Regions from separate parts of the Homo sapiens genome. Here regions 1 and 2 are each linked to region 3. The links are contacts of gene promoters, found by promoter capture Hi-C in blood cells and fetal thymus (Javierre and others, 2016). All regions are on one chromosome and are shown on one strand. The core of a region is centred on a gene start or on the middle of the fragment in contact, and the rest is flanking DNA. Distances in the headings are between cores, read along the strand shown.

Region 1 (2,700 bases), core at 151-2,650, 230 kb after region 3:
GCTTGTATTTCTCCTAATCTGCTTGGCATTAACCTCCTGCCAGGCTTTCAACACCCTTGGGGCAGTTTTCCCAGGTCCTGAGGCTGGGCAGCTGAGTCCAGTAAAAAACAGGGGCCCTGGAGAGGGACTGTGGGCAATGCCCCCGAGTCCCCGGGGCCTGGGAAGAACAGAGGCTGCCAAGTGCAGGGGGTGGTGGGGAGGGGAAGACCCTGGAGTAACAATCCCTGCTGTGTCCACTTGGTTCCCACGGACTCAAGCCAAGCCAAAGCACTGCCCGGACCAGTTCGGCTTCCAACCAATCCTGGTGCTGGCCTCAGACTCCTCCTTTCTTTCTCAGAACCCCATTCCCCTCAGGGCCCCCAGAGTCCAGGCCCCTAGATTCTTCTTCCCCTAGAACTCAGGAGTCTGGGACCCCCCAGTCCCTTCTCCTCAGGACCTAGAAGGTTGGATCCCCAGCCCCCTTTCTCCCTTAGAACCTGAAATCACAGCCCTTGATCAGTATTTTGCGCCCCCTAGTGGAGAGAAGAGTGGGTCTGTCCTGTGACTTACATACAGCAGGAATGGCAGAATTTTTTACTTATTATGATTTTTAATTTCTTTAGAGACAGGGTCTCACTCTGTCACCCAGGCTGGAGTGCAGTAATGTGATCACAGCTAATTGCAACCTCGAACGAACTCCTGGGCTCCGGCATCCCTCCCACCTCAGCCTCAGAGTAGCTGGACCACAGGTGGATGCCACCACACCACCTAATTTTGTTAATTTTTAGTAGAGCTAGGATCTCGCTATGTCACCAAGGCTGGTCTTAAACTCCTAGGCTCAAGCGATCCTTCTGCCTCAGCCTCCCAGAGTGCTAGGATTACAGGCATGAGCCACGAAGCCTGGACGGAATGGCAGAATTTATTTGGTCACTCCACAGAGCATAGGAAGGCTCTGCAGGGAACCTGCCTCCACAGGAGCCCTGTCCAAGGTCACACTTCTCATGAGAAGCTTAGACCTCATCATGCTCCAACACATTGGCCCTTGCAGTGTATGAGACTTGGAGAGCAGATTGCAGCAGTTTGTATTTATAGCTGAGAGCGCAGTTGGGGTTGCAGTGAGGCTGGAGAAAGTTTCAAAGCCCCTCACTTGCCTGGGCTTTCCATGGTCCTCTACCTAAATTTGTACAAGTCATTTTGTACTTTTTTTTTTTCAAGACAGAGTCTCCCTTTTCTTGCCCAGGCTGGAGTGCGATGGCATGATCTCGGCTCACCACAACCTCCGCTTCCCAGGTTCAAGCGATTCTCCTGCCTTGGCCTCCCAAGTAGCTGGGATTACAGGCATGTACCACCATGCCCAGCTAATTTTGTACTTTTAGTAGAGATGGGGTTTCTCCATTTTGGTCAGGCTGGTCTCGAACTCCCGACCTCAGGTGATCCACCAGCCTCTGCCTCCCAAAGTGCTGGGATTACAGTGTGAGCCACCACACCCAGCCAATTTTGTACTTTTTAAAAGAGGCCAGGCCAGGCGCGGTGGCTCATGCCTGTACTCCCAGCACTTTGGGAGACAGAGGCAGGCGGATCACGAGGTCAGGAGATCAAGACCATCCTGGCTAACACGGTGAAACCCCGTCTCTACTAAAAATACAAAAAATTAGCTGGGCGTGGTGGTGGGCGCCTGTAGTCCCAGCTACTCCGGAGGCTGAGACAGGAGAATGGTGTGAACCCAGGAGGCGGAGCTTGCATTGAGCTGAGATCATGCCACTGCACTCCAGCCTGGGTGACAGAGCAAGACTCCATCTCAAAAAAAAAAAAAAAAAGAGGCCCACAAAACACATAAGCTTCAGACCCCACAAAGTCTCTCCTCAATCCCTGTCTTAGTCTATTCACTTCATCCCTGGACTTAAAAGACTGGGCCTACACATTCAAAGAATCGTTATTAACACCATTATTGTCTGTAACAGTGAGGATGAGGCACTGAGTTTTCTTTTTCTTTTCTTTCTTCTTTTTTGGAGGTGGAGTCTTGCTCTGTTGCCCAGGCCGGAATTCAGTGGCATGATCTTGGCTCACTGCAACCTCTGCCTCCCGGGTTCAAGCAATTCTCCTGCCTCAGCCTCCCGAGTAGCTGGAGTTACAGACGTCCGCCACCATGCCCGGCTAATTTTTGTATTTTTAGTAGAGACGGGGTTTCACAATGTTGGCCAGGCTGGTCTTGAACTCCCGACCTCAGGTGATCCGCCTGCCTCGGCCTCCCAAAGTGCTGGGATTACAGGCGTGAGCCACCGCGCCTGGCTGAGGAGCGAAGTTTTCTAAGGTTCCTTCTTGTCCTGTGTTAGCCCTCAGAGAGGTAAGTCACTCACCTTCTGCACCTAGAGAGCCTCATCCCCAGGGCAATCATCCCCAGGGCAGTGCTGGAGATACAGCAGTGACCACAACAGTCCCAGGTCAGCCTGCCCAGTTGGGGAGACACACCCATCCCTGACAGTGATGACACAAAGTGAGCAGGGATGGGGTGGAGGAGCTGAGGGGGCAAGGGAGGATAGGAAAAGGGCTCAGAGAGAGTTTCCTAGAGCGAGAGCTACTGTTACAGGGCTGAGACCTAGAGGAAAGTGGAGGAAACCGATAATAAAATGATAATTATATATTCAGAATATCCCAATGCAAAGCTTACTCTTTTTCCAGGTAATATATAAGGTTCATAATCACAGCGCTCCAAATATTGAC
Region 2 (2,700 bases), core at 89-2,588, 190 kb after region 3:
CGGTGGAAGGGAAGAAGGGACATACACGCAGAGCTTTGCAGCTGAGGGTTTTAATTTTTTGAGATGGGGTCTCTGTCCCACCAGGCTGGAGTGCAGTGGCACAATCACAGCTCACTGCAGCCTCGAACTCCTGGGCTCAAGCAATCTTCCTACCTCAGCCTCTTGAGTAGCTGGGACTACAGGCATGCGCCACCACGCTCGGCTAATTTTTGAACTTTTTTGTAGAGATGAGGTCTCCCTATATTGCCCAGGCTGGTCTCGAACTCCCAGGCTCAAGTGATCCTCCCTCTTCAGCTTCCCAAAGTGCTGGGATTACAGGCATGAGCCACCATGCCTGGCTAATGCAGGTGAGGTTTTTGCAGTGTCATCCAGCTAAGGCGACCCGTTCCCCTCCCAAAAAAGGGAGACTGAGAACCATGAAGTTAAGAGCCCAGAGAATATCACGGTGGTCTGGGGTGCTTCAAGGGCTGGTCTGGAATAAATTGGAGGTGGCACGCAGGGTAGGAGCGCCGGGCCAACTGGGAGACCCAGCAACATAAAGGAAAAGTTGTTGGGGCTGAGGAGGCTTGCTGAGAGAGGGGAAGTGAGGGAAAGAGGTGATCTAGGGACACGGTGTGAATGAGGGGGGGATGAGATCACAGGGTTATTACTGGGAGACCCCTGAGGGAAGATGGCCACAGGGACAGGACAAGGCTGTCTTCTTAAGGGAGGAGACCACCCCTCATATTGTCTTATGCCCAATTTCTGCCTCCAAAGAAAGAAAAAGTAAAAACTAAAAGGCAGAAATGAAATCCACAAGCAGACAGCCCGCGCCACACCCTGGGCCTGGTGGTTAAAGATTGACCCCTGACCTAATCCGTTAGGTTATCTATAGATTACAGACATTGTATAGAAAAGCACTGTGAAAATCCCTATTCTGTTTTGTTCCGATCTAATTACCGGTGCATGCAGCCCCCAGTCACGCATCCCCTGCTTGTTCAATCGATCACGACCCTCTCACGTGCACCCACTTAGAGTTGTGAGCCCTTAAAAGGAACAGGGATTGCTCACTCGGGGAGCTCGGCTCTTGAGACAGGAATCTTGCCCATTCCCCGAACGAATAAACCCCTTCCTTAACTCAGCGTCTGAGGAATTTTGTCTGCGGCTCCTCCTGCTACATTCTGAGTGGGGAAAGGGACTAAGGTGGTCTGAGGACCCCACAGAGTCAGGAAGATTGAGAGGTGAGAGTGCTGAACGGGGAGGGGCTTTGGGGCTAAGGGAAGTGCCCGGGACCCCACCTGACCCCAACGCTCACGGGACAGGGGCAGAGGAGAAAAACGTGGGTGGACAGAGGGAGGCAGGCGGTCAGGGGAAGGCTCAGGAGGAGGGAGATCAACATCAACCTGCCCCGCCCCCTCCCCAGCCTGATAAAGGTCCTGCGGGCAGGACAGGACCTCCCAACCAAGCCCTCCAGCAAGGATTCAGGTTGGTGCTGAGTGCCTGGGAGGGACACCCGCCTACACTCTGCAAGAAACTCAAAAAGGGAGATGAGGGGATCGTGGGAGGGAGGTAGGGAGGGAGGAGGGTGCCACTGATCCCCTGAACCCCTGCCTCTGCCTCCAGAGTGCCCCTCCGGCCTCGCCATGAGGCTCTTCCTGTCGCTCCCGGTCCTGGTGGTGGTTCTGTCGATCGTCTTGGAAGGTAAAAGTGGGATGGGAGAATTGCGGAGTTGGAGATTTGGAAGAGTGAAGGTGGCTACAGGCCTGGGGTCCCGGCTTAGAGGACCTCTGAGAGCTCCGGGGCCCCTTCTGGGTCGTGGTTGCCTCATCGTGGTCGGGTGGGTCTCCAGGTTCTCCCAGGCTCAGTCCCGCAGGCGCCAAATCTGCGCAGGAGAGCACTAGCAACCGATGACGTATTGAGGCCCACACCTCTGGGATTGGCTGTCCTGCTTCGACAGCCTTGAAAGTGGGTAAGCTGGGTGGGGGGCTCTGGGAGAGGTCAGTGCTGAGTAAGGCAATTCCCAGCAGCTTGAGCCCCACCAGGTCACTCCAGTATTCCTCCCCATTCTTTTTTTTTTTTTTTTTTTTTCTCTTGAGACGGAGTCTCGCTCTGTCGCCGAGGCTGGAGTGCAGTGGCGCGATCTCGGCTCACTGCAAGCTCCGCCTCCCTGGTTCACGCCATTCTCCTGCCTCAGCAGGACTACAGGCGCCCGCCACCGCGCCCGGCTAATTTTTTGTATTTTCAGTAGAGACAGGGTTTCACCGTGGTCTCGATCTCCTGACTTTGTGATCCGCCTGCCTCGACCTCCCAAAGTGCTGGGATTACAGGCGTGAGCCACCGCGTCCGGCCATTCCTCCCCATTCTAACCACATGATCCCCAAGGATCTCTATCCATCCCGGTATCCCAACCTAAGGGGGTTCCAATAACAAATTTTTGGCCGGGCAGGGTGGCTCATGCCTGTAATCCCAGCACTTTGGGAGGCCGAGGCGGGCAGATCACTTGAGGTCAGGAGTTCGAAACCAGCCTGGCCAACATGGTGAAACTTCGTCTCTACTAAAAATACAAAAAAATTAGCCAGGTGTGGAGGCACGCGCCTGTAGGCCCAGCTACTCGGGAGGCTGAGGCAGGAGAATCACTTGAACCCGGGAGGCGGAGGTTGCAGTGAGCCGAGATCATACCACTGCACTCCAGCCTGGCTGACACAGCAAGACTCCGTCTCA
Region 3 (2,700 bases), core at 175-2,674:
TTGTTCAGAAGAAGCCAGCCTTGTGGCCGGGTGTGGACTTCCTCCCAGGGCACCAGGGAGCCACTGCAGAGTTGTGAGCAAGGGACAGACAGAGGTAGGCTTGTACTTCCAAGAGACTCCCCCAGCTGCCACATGCAGGGTGAATGGAATGATGCACAGAATCCAGTTTCAGGGGTAGTTTGGTACTTGGACCCAGGTCCCAGGGAGAGAGTCCAAGGAGCCCTTCTCTGGTCTTCCAAGGAGCTGCTCTCCCCAAGCTCCGGATGGAAGGCGTGCCCATGGCAACCGCTAGGTGGTGCCCGTACACCACCAGCCAGGTCTTTTTTTGCCAAAAGTAGATCAGGCCCAGAGCTGGGCAGAACTGCCCCTGGGTCAGGAGAGCAAATCGTCTCTGTCTTTTGGTCCTGGCTCCCTGGCCAGGCATCCTGGGGCCATTTGACTCCCAGGCTCAGGAAGGAGCTGGCTGAGCTGCAGTGAGTATGTTCTTCGTCTCTTTCCTCACCTTGGAATCTCAGACGGGAGCACCCTGGCTCCCACTTCAGACAGGAAGATTCTTACCTCCCTCATCAGACTAGCAGGCTCTTTGTCTCCCCACCAGTTTGAGGGGCTCCCCATTTCTATCATTCATTTGGAAGCTCATCAGCTCTCCCAGAAGGCATGGGAGCCCTTCAACACCCCCATCAGACTAGGACTACCCATCTCCCCCATCAAATTAGAACTGCATTGTCTCACACATCAAAGTATCACTCCTGGCCAGGTGCAGTGGCTCCCGCCTGTAATCCAAGCACTTTGGGAGGCCGAGGCAGGAGGATCACCTGAGGTCAGAAATTCAAGACAAACCTGGCCAACACGGTGAAACCCGGTCTCTACTAAAAATAACAAATTAGCCAGGCGTGGTGGTGTGCGTCTGTAATCCCAGCTACTCAGGAGGCTGAGGCAGGAGAATCGCTTGAACCCAGGAGGCACAGGTTGCAGTGAGCCAAGATCACACCACTGCACTCCAGCCTGGGCGACAGAGCGAGACTCTGACTCACAAAAATAAATACATTGTCTTACACATCAGAATGTTGCTCCTTACCTCCCCTGGCAGACTGGAAATATAGACTGGACACTCGTTCTTGCTGCACAGGACTGGAGCTTCTTATCTTCTTCATTGGATTTGGACAGTCCTGTCTCCCTCATGGGATTTGGTGAGAGCTCCTTAGTTTCCTTATTTTTCCCACTGTGTTGGGCCACCTTGTCCCCACCATCAGATTGGGGAACACCTTGTCTCCCAGTCAGACCAGAGGGGCGGACTCCTCTGCCCTTGCAAAGGTTCCTAGGTCCTTCTTACATCCATAGGAGGAACCATGCCTATTTTACCAAGAGGGAAACTGAGGCACAGAGAAACAAAGCACCACTTCTCTGTCCAGCTGCAGATGCCTCCACCTCCCCCTCCGCCCGCTCCTCTGCCCCTGCCCTCCCCCGCCCCCGCCCCTGACCTGGGTAACTCCCCTGGCACCGGGAGTAGGGGAATTTTGCCCTGCTGGCCTCTGCACCAACCACCTCCCCTTATCGGCAGCGTCGCCACCAGTGGCGGCCCAGGGTTAAAGTCCGGAGAGAGCTCCGGGCGCGAAGCGGATAGGGAGGGAGGAGTGGCGCCCAACCCAGAACGGGGACTCCCCGGAGGTCGAGCCCTCACGCTGCTGGGAGGAGAGGGGATGGGCAGGGCCGTGTCCCATGGTAAGGTGTGGGTTCAATCCTTCCTTTCTAGTTCCCGGCTGTGTGGTCTTGAACCTGGAACTTCACCCCAACTGGGAGCCTCAGCTTCTCCAGCTTTAAGGAGTCAGGGGCGTGAAAATGTCCAAGCTCTGGAGTCAGACTCCAGGAGTTTGAATGCTGGCTCCTATAACCTGCTGTGTGAGATCTGGGGCCAGCGAGTGTGTCTCTCTCAGCCTCAGTTTCCCCAGCTGTGCAATGAGGATACCTAGTGGGTGGTGGTGAACGCTCCATGAGTTTACGCACAAGAAAACCTTGGGACAGTGGCTGATAGTGGCGCCAGCAAGCCAGCATGCACCCCACCCTTTCCTTCCAAGAAAATTGCCTCCTAAATCTATGATTGGTAACCTTCACCCCTCCCTCTTTGACCCACCTCCTAACCCAGGCCACCTGGTGTCTTGCTGCACAGCTGGTCTCCCTGCCCGCACCACACCCAGAGGCGTCCTTGGAAACCCAACCCTGACCCCTGGTCAGAATCTGCCATGGCTCCCCAGTGCCCCCAGGAGAAAGCCAAGTGCTGTGCCACAGCCACAGCCTGACCACTCACTGCTTGTATTTTTTTTTCTTTTTCTTTCTTTTCTTTTCTTTTTCTTTTTTTTTTTTTTTTTTTAAGACAGGGTCTTGCTCTGGCCCCAGGCTGGAATGCAGTGGTGCCATCATAGCTCACTGCAGCCTCAACCTCCTGGGCTCAAGCAATCCTCCCACCTCAGTCTCCTGAGTAGCTGAGACTACAGGCACATGCCACCACACCTGGGTAAATTTTTAAATTTTTTTTTTAGCGATAGGGTCTCACTCATTGCCCAGGCTGGTCTTAAACTCCTGGGCTCAAGCGATCCTCCCGCCTCAGCCTCCCAAAATGCTTGGACTACAGGTATGCACCACCGCGCCCAGCCTCCTTTCTGGTTTTCTAATAAAGCCTTTTGTTCACCTCCTTCAAACACT

The links. Contacts are between HindIII fragments. The CHiCAGO score rates a contact against its expected background, and 5 or more counts as called.
Region 1: a contact is called between a fragment that was not itself captured here and the fragment with the promoter of CEACAM16-AS1 in region 3, in 1 of 17 cell types (total B cells). The highest score is 6.0, in total B cells.
Region 2: a contact is called between the fragment with the promoter of APOC1 here and the fragment with the promoter of CEACAM16-AS1 in region 3, in 2 of 17 cell types (naive CD8 T cells and activated CD4 T cells). The highest score is 5.1, in naive CD8 T cells.

Annotation. Positions count from the first base shown.
Region 1 is chr19:44,951,248-44,953,947 of GRCh38, forward strand. No RefSeq gene overlaps it. Among named protein-coding and RNA genes, the nearest start is that of CLPTM1, 2.8 kb to the right of the region's middle. The HindIII fragment of the contact is 829 bases long and covers 987-1,815 here.
Region 2 is chr19:44,913,270-44,915,969 of GRCh38, forward strand. APOC1 (apolipoprotein C1) reads left to right here and starts at 1,339. Exons shown (of 4, transcript NM_001645.5): 1 at 1,339-1,464; 2 at 1,603-1,680. The coding sequence starts at 1,623. RefSeq lists enhancers at 1-134, 893-1,652, 1,653-2,410 and a promoter at 352-1,478. The HindIII fragment of the contact is 4,871 bases long and covers 1-2,700 here.
Region 3 is chr19:44,723,759-44,726,458 of GRCh38, forward strand. It overlaps CEACAM16-AS1 (CEACAM16, CEACAM19 and PVR antisense RNA 1), which reads right to left and starts at 1,425. Exons shown (of 2, transcript NR_186815.1): 1 at 1,079-1,425. The HindIII fragment of the contact is 7,565 bases long and covers 1-2,700 here.